Regions from separate parts of the Homo sapiens genome. Here all the other regions are linked to region 3. Evidence: promoter capture Hi-C in human tissues and cell types (Jung and others, 2019). All regions are on one chromosome and are shown on one strand. The core of a region is centred on a gene start or on the middle of the fragment in contact, and the rest is flanking DNA. Distances in the headings are between cores, read along the strand shown. Region 1 has its middle 92 kb from the start of SHB. Region 2 has its middle 120 kb from the start of SHB. Region 3 holds the start of ALDH1B1 (aldehyde dehydrogenase 1 family member B1).

Evidence for each region. The method cuts DNA at HindIII sites, captures the fragments that hold promoters and counts their contacts. A contact is called where the count stands out against the background at its distance.
Region 1: a contact is called between a fragment that was not itself captured here and the fragment with the promoter of ALDH1B1 in region 3, in 2 of the 25 tissues and cell types used here (lymphoblastoid cells and mesendoderm cells).
Region 2: a contact is called between a fragment that was not itself captured here and the fragment with the promoter of ALDH1B1 in region 3, in 1 of the 25 tissues and cell types used here (stomach).

What each region holds. Positions count from the first base shown.
Region 1 is chr9:38,159,358-38,163,514 of GRCh38, reverse strand. No RefSeq gene overlaps it. Among named protein-coding and RNA genes, the nearest start is that of SHB, 92 kb to the right of the region's middle. The HindIII fragment of the contact is 3,402 bases long and covers 1-3,330 here.
Region 2 is chr9:38,183,652-38,187,795 of GRCh38, reverse strand. No RefSeq gene overlaps it. Among named protein-coding and RNA genes, the nearest start is that of SHB, 120 kb to the right of the region's middle. The HindIII fragment of the contact is 5,311 bases long and covers 1-4,144 here.
Region 3 is chr9:38,391,081-38,394,901 of GRCh38, reverse strand. It overlaps ALDH1B1 (aldehyde dehydrogenase 1 family member B1), which reads right to left and starts at 2,200. Exons shown (of 2, transcript NM_000692.5): 1 at 2,095-2,200. RefSeq lists enhancers at 1,724-1,813, 1,854-1,903 and a silencer at 2,114-2,433. The HindIII fragment of the contact is 12,047 bases long and covers 1-3,821 here.

The DNA of each region.
Region 1 (4,157 bases), core at 380-2,879, 230 kb after region 3:
CAGCCTACAGATCCAATCAGGCCCTCAGCTGTTTTTGCATAGCTCCTTAGCTAGGAAGTTTAAAGATATTTTTAAAGAACTATTTTTTTTTAAAAAAAGGAAAGAAAGCCACAAGGAAGGCTATGTGACATAGTCTGTATGTGGCCCACAAGGCCTAAAATACTTACTATTTAGCCTTTTACAGAAAAGGTTTGCCAATGACTTCCCTAGACAATGTTAGATTTGTTCTCCTCTCCATCAGAATTCATAGACCTCTCCGGAACTCTTTGGGATAAGTAGGATTTGTCTGTAGCTGTGCAATAGTTGTTGAATTCTCCCACCTCCACTGTCCTGTAAGCTCCAGGGAGGCTTGTTCATCGATGCCCTCCTAGACCCCAGCACACAATAGATCTTCAGTTACTATTTGCTGAATGACTGAATGAATGAGGTCCAGGCTCTTACATCCTCGCAGCCTATATGCAGCACCCCTCAGGCTGAACACTCACTTCGGCATCATGCAGACTGAAACCATATGCTTATTTTACCCAATTAACCATCACTGAGCACTTTACTAGAACAAGGCTCCATGCTAGGCTGGAGCCCAGGCCTGGCTCTGCCCACCAGGAGCTCACAGTCCAGTAAGAAAGATCAGACACAGACACAAATAACTACAATACAAGATAGGCCACTATTCATACCCTGAAAGGAAGATAGAGAAAGTGCAATGCACACACAAAAGGAAGGGGCAATTAAATCTGAACAGGATTAACAGTTCACTCGATAACTGGGCAAAGCCAGGAAAAGACAATTCACAAAAGGGAACGTACTCCAATAAAACAAATATATGAGAAAGTCTTCAGCCTTACTAGTAACCAGAAAAATGCTAATAAAAATTACGAGATATCTTTTTACGATTATTAAAATAATAAAAAAAATCTATTTCAAGCCATAATGCCCCGTGCTCTCAATGGCACAACGAAAGGCTCTCTTGCACAATGCTGTCGGGTGGGAGTGAAGTTGAATAACTACTTGAAATCAATTTGGCAATAATATCAAACATCACAAAAATGTTCCAACTTTATGACCCAGTCATCCCCCTTCCAAGAATTGGTCCAAAGAAAATAATTCAAGTTAAGGAGAGGTTTATGTGCTAATACACGAGATGACTACAGTAGCAGTTATTTGGAAGCAGTCTAAAACCCAGGATCCCCTTCCTACACAGGCTACCTGGTCCTTTAAAGATCACCACATTAGTGGAATCTGACCCTGCCCCCTTGCTCCACAGGAGGAGCCAGCTCCTGAAAAATAGGGTTAGTCTCTGTTTGGGTGGCTGTGTTGTCACATGTAAAGCTTGGGTATGGTCAGTGGGTATTTTCTGCCACATGGAGAGGAAAAGCAGAGGAAGCCAGTCTGCTGAAGAAGAGGGGAAAATATGAAGCCAAGGCAAGCACCAGTGCCTCAGGCATCTGCACCCAGGTTCCAGGTCCCCGCAGCCCAACATTTCTAACCTTGGTTTCTGCAAGATGCCCCAGCAGCCTCTGCACAAAGATCCCTTTTGCCTAAGCTCTTTTAGGTTGAGTTTCTGTCACTTATAACTATTACTAACATACAATGGAAGAGTGGATAACCATTAACAATTGTGATGTTATGAAGCAACATAGGAAAAAAATAGTTTGACCTAATAAAGGGAGAAAAAGAAAAACAGGCTGGGAGGCTGGGCACAGTAGCTCATACTTGTAATACCAGCATTTAGGGAGGCCAAGGCAGGAGGATTGCTTGAGGCCAGGAGTTCAAGACCAGCCTAAGCAATATAGCAAGAACTCCTCTCTACAAAATAATGGGGGGAAAAAAAAAAGCTGGGCATGGTAGTGCATGCCTGTAGTCTCAGCTAATCAGGAGACTGAGGCAGGAGGATCACTTCAACTCAGGCGATTGGGCTGCAGGGAGCCATAATCCTGCCACTGCACTCCAGCATGGGTGTCACAGAGAGATCCCATTTATATTTTAAAAAATTAGATACAACATTACATGTGCACTACATATACCAATGTATGTGCACAGGGAAACTGGAAAGGGATATATTAAAAGTTGTATCAGTGTCAGCGATGTGATATGAGTGATTATTTCCTCTATGCCCTTACTTGCATTGCTTTTCTTAAAATAAAATTCTGATTGAGGAGATGAGCCATAGACCAAACAACAGTGATGCTAAGTGAACACTGCTTGTTGCCCAGAGAGAGGGTAGATATGGAGCTGGGGAACTCAAGAGAAGGATATCTTTATTACCTCCAGCTGGAGAGATCAGAAAAAAATGACGAAGGAAGCAGCATTTGAAATGGGGTTTCAGCAACAGGAAGGACTTGAACAGGGAGCAAAGTGTGCCAGGTGGGAAAGAAAATTGAGATTGAGAGAAAAGGATAAATGGGCGTGGAAGAGCACCACATTTAGGGAAGGAGGAGACATTCCCTGTGGCAAGAGCAGAGGGTACAAAGTGGAGATCAGTAAGAAATCAGGCCACATTGCAGAGGTTTTAAGCTGGCGACCTTCAGGCCACATTGGCCCAGTTTTTTTTACTCACTGGTGGGGTGATCACATATTTCTAAATTAGGTGCTATGGCTCTCATCTCTAACCCTATCCCCTCTAAATTTGCCTTTTATGATGACAGCTGGGACACTAATATTCTGCTTGGCCTGCTGACGATCTCTTAGCCTCTGCCAACAGGGGGCGCTAGAGAGAGATCACAAGGTGGAAGAGCCAGGGAACCACACAATGAAGGTGGGAGCCCTTCCTGATCTGGCTTTAACTTGTAAGGTTCGATACGCACACGTCATATGATCCAGCAACCCCACTCCTAGGTATGTCTTTGAGAATCTCTTCCATGCGCCCTGGGAGGCATGACCAAGAATGTTCATAGTAGCGTTTCATGATAGCAAAATACTAGAAGCAAACCAAATGCCTAATAGCAAAAGAATAGATAATACGTGGTGTTTTACACAGTGAGATATTACACAGCAGGGAAAATGAATGAACTAAGCTACAGGCATCAACATGGATGAATTTTAGAAACAACGTTAGGTGAAAAAAAGTAATTTACAGAAGACTGTGAATATTTTATTGTAATATCAAACAGTATGATTTTTTTATAAAGTTCAAATGCAAATAAAAGTAAATAATATATGGCTTTGGAATATGAATATATGTGCTAAAACTATCACAAAACAGCCAGGAAATCATAAACACCAAAGCCTGGGTTGTGGTCATTTGTAGGGGAGGTGAGGGCTAGAATAAGAAAGAGGTACCCAGACACATGCAAGAGTACCAGGAAAGTTCTAGTTCCAAAAGTGGATGGTGAGCTCATGGGTGCTAATTTTACTATCATGTTTTGCAATGAATATATGCATTACAAATATTGTTCTATATATATATAAAACATTTCCTAATAGACATCTTGAAAAATTCAATCATAAAATAGCTTGTGACCAAGAAATGGTGTTTTCAGGAGGATCCTGTGGGCTCTGCCCACAAATGTACTGGTGGCTGAGGTCTGGGTGAGGATGGAGGTGCTGGGTTGGACTCTGGCCAGCACCATGTCCAGGTATCCCACCTGTTTGCTGCATCCCCAGGCACAGCCACCCTTGAGAGGAGTCAGGAGAGCCTTGACCTGGACATCTGGACCAGCTTCCAGTTCCACGTCTAGCTTACCGAGTGACCTTGATCAAGCTCCCTCACCTCAGTTTTCCCATTTGTACAATGGGAGAGTAGGGAACAGGTGATTACTCAAAGCCTTCATTCTGGTGTTATCGAGTGGCCCAGGTGCCTTGATGGAAAAGATGAGTTAGGAGCTTGATGGTCCTGCTGTCACCAGCTGGGGGACTTTGGGCCTTTTAAGAAGCAGCTTAACTTCTCTCTGCTTAGTTTCCTCATTTGTTAAATGGGGATGGATCAGGTATCTGCCTCATAGGATTATTGTGAGAATGAAATAAAATAATACTTGTAAAGCATCTAGCATAGAGTCTGGAAGAGAAAGCCCCCAGTAGACAGCAGCCATTGTGTGGACGACCAGGCAGCCTGAGTGGCCACACCCTGCTGTGGAAGTGTCCTCCCAAGGGCCACACTCCAGGAGGTGCACCTGGCCCATGTCAGGCCAGGCCTTTTCCCGCTTTCATCATCACTGGCT
Region 2 (4,144 bases), core at 1,353-3,852, 210 kb after region 3:
GAACTTGCGGAATTCAACTTTTTAGAGTAGAATGATGGTTACTAGAGGCCGGAAAGAGTAGAGAGGGGGATAAAGTGGGGTTGGTTACTGAGTACAGACATATAGTTATGTAGAAGAAATAAGTTCTCGTTTGATAGCACAATAGGATGACTATAGTAAACAGCAATTTATTGTATATTTCAAATCAGCTAAAAGATTTGAAATGTTTCCAATACAAAGAAATTATAAATGTTTGAGGTGATGAATATCTTAAAGACCGATTTGATCACTACACAGTGGATGCATGTTTCAAAATATCACATGTACTCCATAAATATGTACAATGACTACGTATCAGTAAAAAAGAGAAGTTAATTTCTCTCAAGTGTAAAAGTCTGGGCTGGTATAGCAGCTGTGGCTCTAAGGTTGTCAGGGGCCCAATTGTAACTACCCAGTGGGTTCACCTTGCCCGCTGCCTAGACAGAGCTGATTTATCTTTATCAAGTCGGGAATTGCAACAGAGAAAGAGTAATTCATGCAGAGCCAGCTGTGTGAGAGATCAGAGTTTTATTATTACTCAAATCAGTCTCCCGAGCATTCAGGGAGCAGAGTTTTTAAGGACAATTTGGTAGGCTGGAGGATGCCAGTGAGCCAGGAGTGCTGATTGGTCAGAGATGAAATCACAGGGAGTCAAAGCTGGCTTCTTGCACTGAGTCAGTTCCTGGGTGGGGGCCACAGGATCAAATAAGCCAGTTTATTGATCTAGGTGGTGCCCCCTGATCCATTAAGTGCAGCATTTGCAAAGCATCTCAAGCATTGATCTTAGGAGCAGTTTAGGGAGGGTCAGAATCTTGTAGCCTCCAATTGCATGACTCCTAAACCATAATCTCTAATCTTGTGGCTAATGTTAGTCCTACAAAGGCAGTCTAGTCCCCAGGCAAGAAGGAGGTGTGCTTTGGGAAAGGGTTGTTTCAACTCCCTATGATTTCATCTCTGACCAATCAGCACTCCTGGCTCCACTGGCTTCCCCCTACCCACCAAGTTATCCTTAAAAACTCTGCTTGGGGAGACTGATTTGAGTAATAATAAAACTCTGGTTTAATGCACAGCTGACTCTGCACGAATTCCTCTTTCTCTATTGCAATTCCCCTGTCTTGATGAATCGAGTCTGTGTAGGCAGCAGGCAAGGTGAACCCCTTGGGCGGTTACAGGAATTGAGAACGCCAGACTTCAGTGGAAATTGAACGCTGGCCCATCTGCTAGGTTCACTGGCTAGCTCTGAATCTTGGTTCAGGAAACTGGCCTCACAACTCAGGATTCCAGTCCATGACCTTTCAGGTCTTCAGAAGGAGCTAAAGCTGTGTGTTTATTGTTAAGCCTATGAATCATAAATTTTTTGAACCAGAGTGAGTGTTATGATAGACATCTGAGTGAAGCTGTCCATTTTGATGTGGCTATTTTTATTCAAAGGACATGTTAATGTGGTACTTTTAACCCAGGTCATTTGGGGCTATATCAAAATGTAAAAACTGTTTTCTGTGCAAGCCACCTTTAATCCTGCCCTCCTTCCCAGCTTCAATCCACTGCTTGCTCTACTCCCTCCTCGCTATTGTCATTCAACTGCAAAATTTATGGCCTTAGCAAAGCGCCCATAATAAGTGGACCCTAGTAAAAGATCTGTAAATCCACCATTCCTCTCCCAAGGGAAATTTAATAAAAACGAACTCAGATAAAAACACTCATTAAGAATCGAAACAAAGATTGATAGTGTTTAATTTATAATTAATACATGTCTTTCTTTCTCTAGGATATTTGAAAATATTTTATTCTCATGATTTTTGACCAGTATCGAAGTGGTTCCACCAATTCTCGTATTTTAATAATGCCTGTGGTGTCTCTTTTCTTTGTACAAAGAGATTATATTTGAGGTTTCTTTTGGGTTGGTCCTTGGACTGGCAAATTTCCAAATGGCTTTGACTGAGCCATTTGGAAAGCTAATTCTTAGCCATTACCTTTCATTTTCCTTTCACTAGCTGACCTAACATAGGTAGAAATAATGAGGTTTTGTGGGGTTTATTTTTGACAACTTTAGTGGCTTTAAATGTCTTTAGCCCAATTTTTAAATGGTTGCAGATTTTAAGGTGTATTATCTACTAACACATCAAATGGAACCTCTGGGTCTTTAGTTGTCACAAACAGAATCACTTGAGCTGCAAGGAAAAACTTAAACCACTTCTGTTTGGTGTTTTTAACTCTTCATTGGCTAATTTCTTTTTTATTTATTTATTTATTTTTGAGATGGAGTCTTGCTCTGTCGCCCAGGGCTGGAGTGCAATGGCACCATCTCAGCTCACTGCAACCTCCGCCTCCCGGACTCAAGTGATACTCAGCCTCCCAAGTAGCTGGGATTACAGGCATGTGCCACCATGACCTGCTAATTTTTTTTTTTTTTTTTTTTTTTTAGACGGAGTTTCACTCTCGTTGCCCAGGCTGTAGTGCAACGGCACAATCTTGGCTCACTGCAACCTCCACCTCCCAGGTTCAAGTGATTCTCCTGCCTCAGCCTCCCTAGTAGCTGGGATTACAGGCATGTGCCACCACGCCCAGCTAATTTTGTATTCTTAGTAGAGATGGGGTTTCTCCATGTTGGTCAGGCTGGTCTCTAACTCCTGACCTCAGGTGATCTGCCCACCTCGGCCTCCCAAAGTGCTGGGATTACAGGCATGAGCCACCGCACTCGGCTAATTTTTGTATTTTTTTTTAGTAGAGGAGGAGTTTTGCCATGTTGGCCAGACTGGTCTCCAATGTCTAACCTCAGGTAATCCACCCACCTCGGCCTCCCACAGTACTGGGATTATAGGCATGAGCCACTGCATCCAGCCTCCTTGGCTAATTTCTTTTACAGTTTCTTTTCTTTTTTTTTTTTTTTTTACTAAATGGGGGAAAAAATAGTACTCAAGAAGACTGAATAGGTAGCATATAATCTATCCTGCTTCAAATCCATCACTGCAGTTGGCTCATTTTCTTCATCTGTAACAGGGAATAATAATGGTACATAATTCAAGGGTTTGAGCATTCAACTAAGATGCATAAAGTGCATAGCACAGTGCCTTGCACATAATAAATGGTCATTAAATGATAGCTATTTTTGTATTATTATTCTTTAGCACAAAATTAAATCCTAAATGTCTTACTCCCTCCAAAAGGGATTAAATTATGATTTAATTTTATGATTTAATTTGTGGGGACATGCTCTGAAACTGGCATAATGAAAATGGTGCCTTCACAGTGGAGAAAGTTGGAGGAGAAGATTAAAATTAAGTCAACAATAGTGTGATGGGTTGGCATTGTGCACTTCCTGATAGAGCACATGGAGAGCACCCAGCATCATTTTTGTGTAATTCCTGCCAAACCTCATGTTGAAATTTGATCCCCAATGTTGGAGGTGGGTCCCAATGGGAGGTGCTTAGGTCATAGGGGTGGATCCTTCATGAATGGCTTGATGAAGTTCTTGCAATAGTGAATTTTCACTCTACCAGTCCCTACCAGAACTGGTTGTTAAAGAGAGCCTGGCACCTCCCTCCCCTCTGTCTTGCTTCCTCTCTGGCCATGTGATCTCTGTACACTCAGGCTCCCCTTCTCCTTCTGCCATGAGGGGAAGCAGCTTGAGGCCCTTACCAGAAGCAGATAAGCTTCTTGTACAGCCTGTAGAACCATAAGCCAAATAAATCTTTCTTTATAAATTACCCAGCTTTGGGTATTCCTTTTAGCAACACAAACAAACAAGATAGTTTCTCTAAGGATAAGTCTATCAAAGCAGCATAAATAGCCATCCCAAACAAGTATGGCGTTTGTTCTATTGGTTTCTGTGTGGCACCCATGCTAAGGAAATAAAAATGTCTTGTGTGAACAGGTTTCCAAACTACTGCCAAAAATTTTCTTTTGACCTCTTGCTGTGACAAACTGCATTAATGCACTTGTTCATAAAGAGCCACCTTTACATTCCTGTAGTAAAGCTGACTTGGTCATAATGTAGTATTCTTTTAATATACTACTGAATTGAATACTAACACTAAAATTTATATGGGATGTATGCCTCTATGTTCTTAAATGTGTAATCATTGTATTGAACAGTCTGAAGTCAGCAGGGCGTAAACATAAGATG
Region 3 (3,821 bases), core at 951-3,450:
ACTCTGAAGAGTGTAGACTTCGTTAAAACAACTACTGTTATAAAACTTAAACGGCATATAATACATATTAAATGAAAATTAAACAGAGTGTAGTGTTCCCAGATTAGTTGAAGCAGTTATTCTTCAGTCAGAATTTGAATCTCTCTGCCTTTGATGTCTCATGAGTCTTGCTCCGCCCAGCGGTAAAATGGAATTGCACCTGCCTGTCCCTTCACCCCCAGCCTCTCACCCTCCACCCCTGGGCAGGGAGAGGAACAAAAAACTCAATCAGGAAAGCAAGGCTCCATGTAGGTCCCCGGCCCCATAAAAATCAATGTGATGGGCGTGGTGGCTTACGCTGGTAACGCTTTGGTAGGCCGAAGTGGAAGGACTGCTTGAGGCCAGGAGTTTGAGACCAGCCTGAGCACATAGCAAGAACCGTGTCTCTACAAAAAAACAAAAATAAATTTGCCGAGCATAGTGGTGCATGCCTGTAGTTCTAGCTGCTTGGGAGGCTGAGGTGGGGGCAATCACCTGAGCCCAGGAGGTTGAGGCTGCAGTGAGCCATGATTGTGCCACTGCACTCCAGCCTGGGTAACAGAACAAGACTGTATCTAAAAAAAATAATAATAATCAATGCTGACCAAGAAAGTTTCCCTTCCCCTTGCGGGTGTTAGGAATAATGCTCAAAATCCTAAGGAAATTGAACACTCGAACACAGGATTCTTAGCAAAGCAATTTTACTTCTGCGCAGAGGGATGCCTCCTTGGCCAGTTGCCATGAGAGCACACCTGAACAAAGGGGCACGAGAGCCTTTATTCCTGATGCAAGTCCTGCCCCTGTACCCTTTCCCCATTGGCTGGGGTCAGGTCGTACAATCTAAACTAATCCCGGTTGGCTAAACATTTGATTTATTTTAGATAGAGTGGGCACGTAAAAGAAAGTGGAGAGAAAGGGGAAAGGGTGTCTGTAATGAGCTAGAAAGTTAGTCTTCTTTCCAAATAAGCAAAGGAATGTGAGCTGGTACTGATAACGCTTGGTACTGTGGCATGCCTGGGCATCTAACAAAGGCAAAAAGGAGAAAAATGAAAAAAAAAAAGGGGGGGATACTAAGAATTAAAGAATAAAAGATTGATCAGATTATTTGAAGAGAAACCTCATCATATCCCACAGGGGGAAGCTGAGTCAGCAGATCTGCCAGGGGTGCCCAGGGTTCCATTTAGCTCAGGACTTTGCCATATGCTGGGACACAGCCCCCTTGCCACCAACAGGCCTGGCTCTGAGGGTGAGGAGACCAAAAGGAGGTAGGGGAAAGGGGAGTCACCAACCCATGGGGTAAGGATTGGAGGGGTGAAGCAGTCAGGAGAGGTGGTCATAGGCCAAGGCTGGCAAACCTTTGCAGCCACACCAAGGCCGTTCCTACTCTTGGGGCCTATATGGGGTTCTTGCTGGGGCCTCCACTTGCTGATAGGAAGATCACAGCTCACAGAGCATCATGCTTTACAGTTTGCAGGCTGTCTTCTCACGGGAAATTTGCCAAGCCTCTCTGCAGTCCCTGGGTGGTCAGGGTTGATGATGACCCCCATTCTGGAAGAAGGCTGGGCATCAGAGAGGTTCAGGGACTCACCGAGGACACACAGCAAGAAAGTATAGGAGCCTCACCCCAGACTTCCACAAACCTAGCTTTGCATATCCTCCTGAATACAGGCAATTTTTTACAGTTCACCCACAGCGGGAAGGACCGGACCTTCTCTATCCGCGGGAACTGCAGCGGCGCCCACCTCACCCCTTCTGCGGGGGAAAGGGCGCAACCTTTGGGCTTGTCCAAGCCTCTGGGCTATGGTCAGGGGCCCTCTGTTGAAGTGGGCCGAGTGGGCAGGAGTGTTGAGGTCGAGCTAACGTGGTAAGGTCTGGGGGCGTCTGTGTCCTCGGGGCTCCTGTAGCGTCACCCAGAGGCGGGGGATGGGATTAGGGGACGTGGAGAGAGTCCTACAGTGCAACGGCGGAAAGGCCAGCCCCCAGATGCGGACGCCGCGGCCCAGAGAGGAAAGCCCCCACGCGGAGCCAGGAGCTGCGGCTTCCCGAGGGAGCCGAGGGGAGACCAGCGTTAGTTACCTGCAGCAGGCTCGGGCTCCGGTTCAGGATCACGCTTGGGTTCTGGTTCCGGCCCTCCCAGCTCTGTCCACATGGCCGCCCAGGGCTGGCCGCAGGTCCCGCCTCCGCGCAGCCCGGGGCTCAGCGGCCAATGAGGCTCCGCCTGCGCCTGGGGCGCTGCCTACGTCCTGTCGCCGGCCAAGGCCGCTCCTCCCTCGCCCCGCCCGGTCTTTCCCGGTCCCCGCCCCTCTACCCCCGGCAGCCCGCACCGCTTCAGCGCTCCCTCCCTCGGGTCTCCGCAAGCCCAGTGTCCACGTTGCTCAGATCTAGGCTCCTAAGGCACTGGTTTGGGAGCGGAAACAGAGATACCCAGAGAGGGGCAGGGGCTTCCCCAGGTCACACAGCAAAGTTTTCGGAGACCGAACCCCAACTACACTTTGCATTTCTCCCCGCTGCAAGACGCTGCTTAATCGACTGCCATCCTTGAGACTCCCCTTAACCCCTTCTCTGCCTCGCCTCTCCCTCACTTTTTTTGTCCAGGATTCACTAATTTCTGTCCTCCACTTTCACTGCTCCTTTCTTCAGTTCCTTCAAGAAGATTTTATATTTGGGCATTTTTCAAAGTACATTTTTGTCCTAAGGACAAAAAGAATGTATGCACAGTGTAGAAAGCTTGGAAAACACAGGAAAGGATGAAAAAAGAAGAAAAATATCACCTGTAATCTCTTCACCTACGGTAGCCATTATTACGGTGTTCGTCCTGCTAGTATTGTTTCCTCTGCATCTTTCAAAATTATTTTAATAAAAATAAAATCATATAGTAACCTCTGTTGTGCTGCTTTAAAAAAAATTTAAAAACTTAGCGCTGTATTTTGAAGTTTTCTCCTATCACTAATTACAGATGACATCATCCTCTCCAAGGTGGCATAGAATTCTGTTGTAGGGGTAAACTGTTGGACATTTAATTGTCTCCATTTTGTTGCTATAAAGGTTGCCAAGATGGACCACTGAACATGCATCTCACTCGCTCCACCCTCGCTGCACCTTCCTTCTGGCTAGGGAGGTCCCAAAGCTAACCGCCATGTTTCCCAGCCTCATTTGCAGTTAGAGTTCTGGATGTGGACTAGGTGCTGCCAATTAGTAGTACTCTGCCGGATGTGGAAGGCGGGCACGCATTGGAGGGTATTGTCCTGCCCCTGTAGGGTGGCACTAGCAGGATAGCAGAAATGGGAGATGTTCTGCGGCAGCATTCCTTGTCCCTTCTCCAGCTTTCTGGCTGTGGACCGGCCGCTGTGGCTGTAGCCGCTCCTTGACCTGGCTTCCTGCTCTTTGAATGGAGGCTGCAGGAGGGTGTCTGAAGTAGCCTCAGACAGGCACGAGGCTGGTGGGCCACGTCCATATTGTCCTGAGAGTTGGTCCTGGTCTGGCTAAGGCTTGCTTCTGCCTCCGGCACTTGCAGCAGGTCTGTAAGCACCCAGTTCCTTGTATTAAATCCCTGCCTCTCCACTGATCTAGGGTGCTCACATGCGACTGCTTGGACCTAATTCACTTAGTTCTTTCCTTAAGCTACATCTCTATGGAATCTTTTGCTACCATATCATCCTTAGCATGTTCACAGCCCTTGCTGCAAAAGTTAGCCATCCATGAAGGCACTATGATTGGCATCTTATCACCTTGATGCCCATGCTTTCCTCGGGTTTCTCCAGCAACGGCATGAGCCCCTTGCCAAGGCCCTCCTGCCTCCCCCA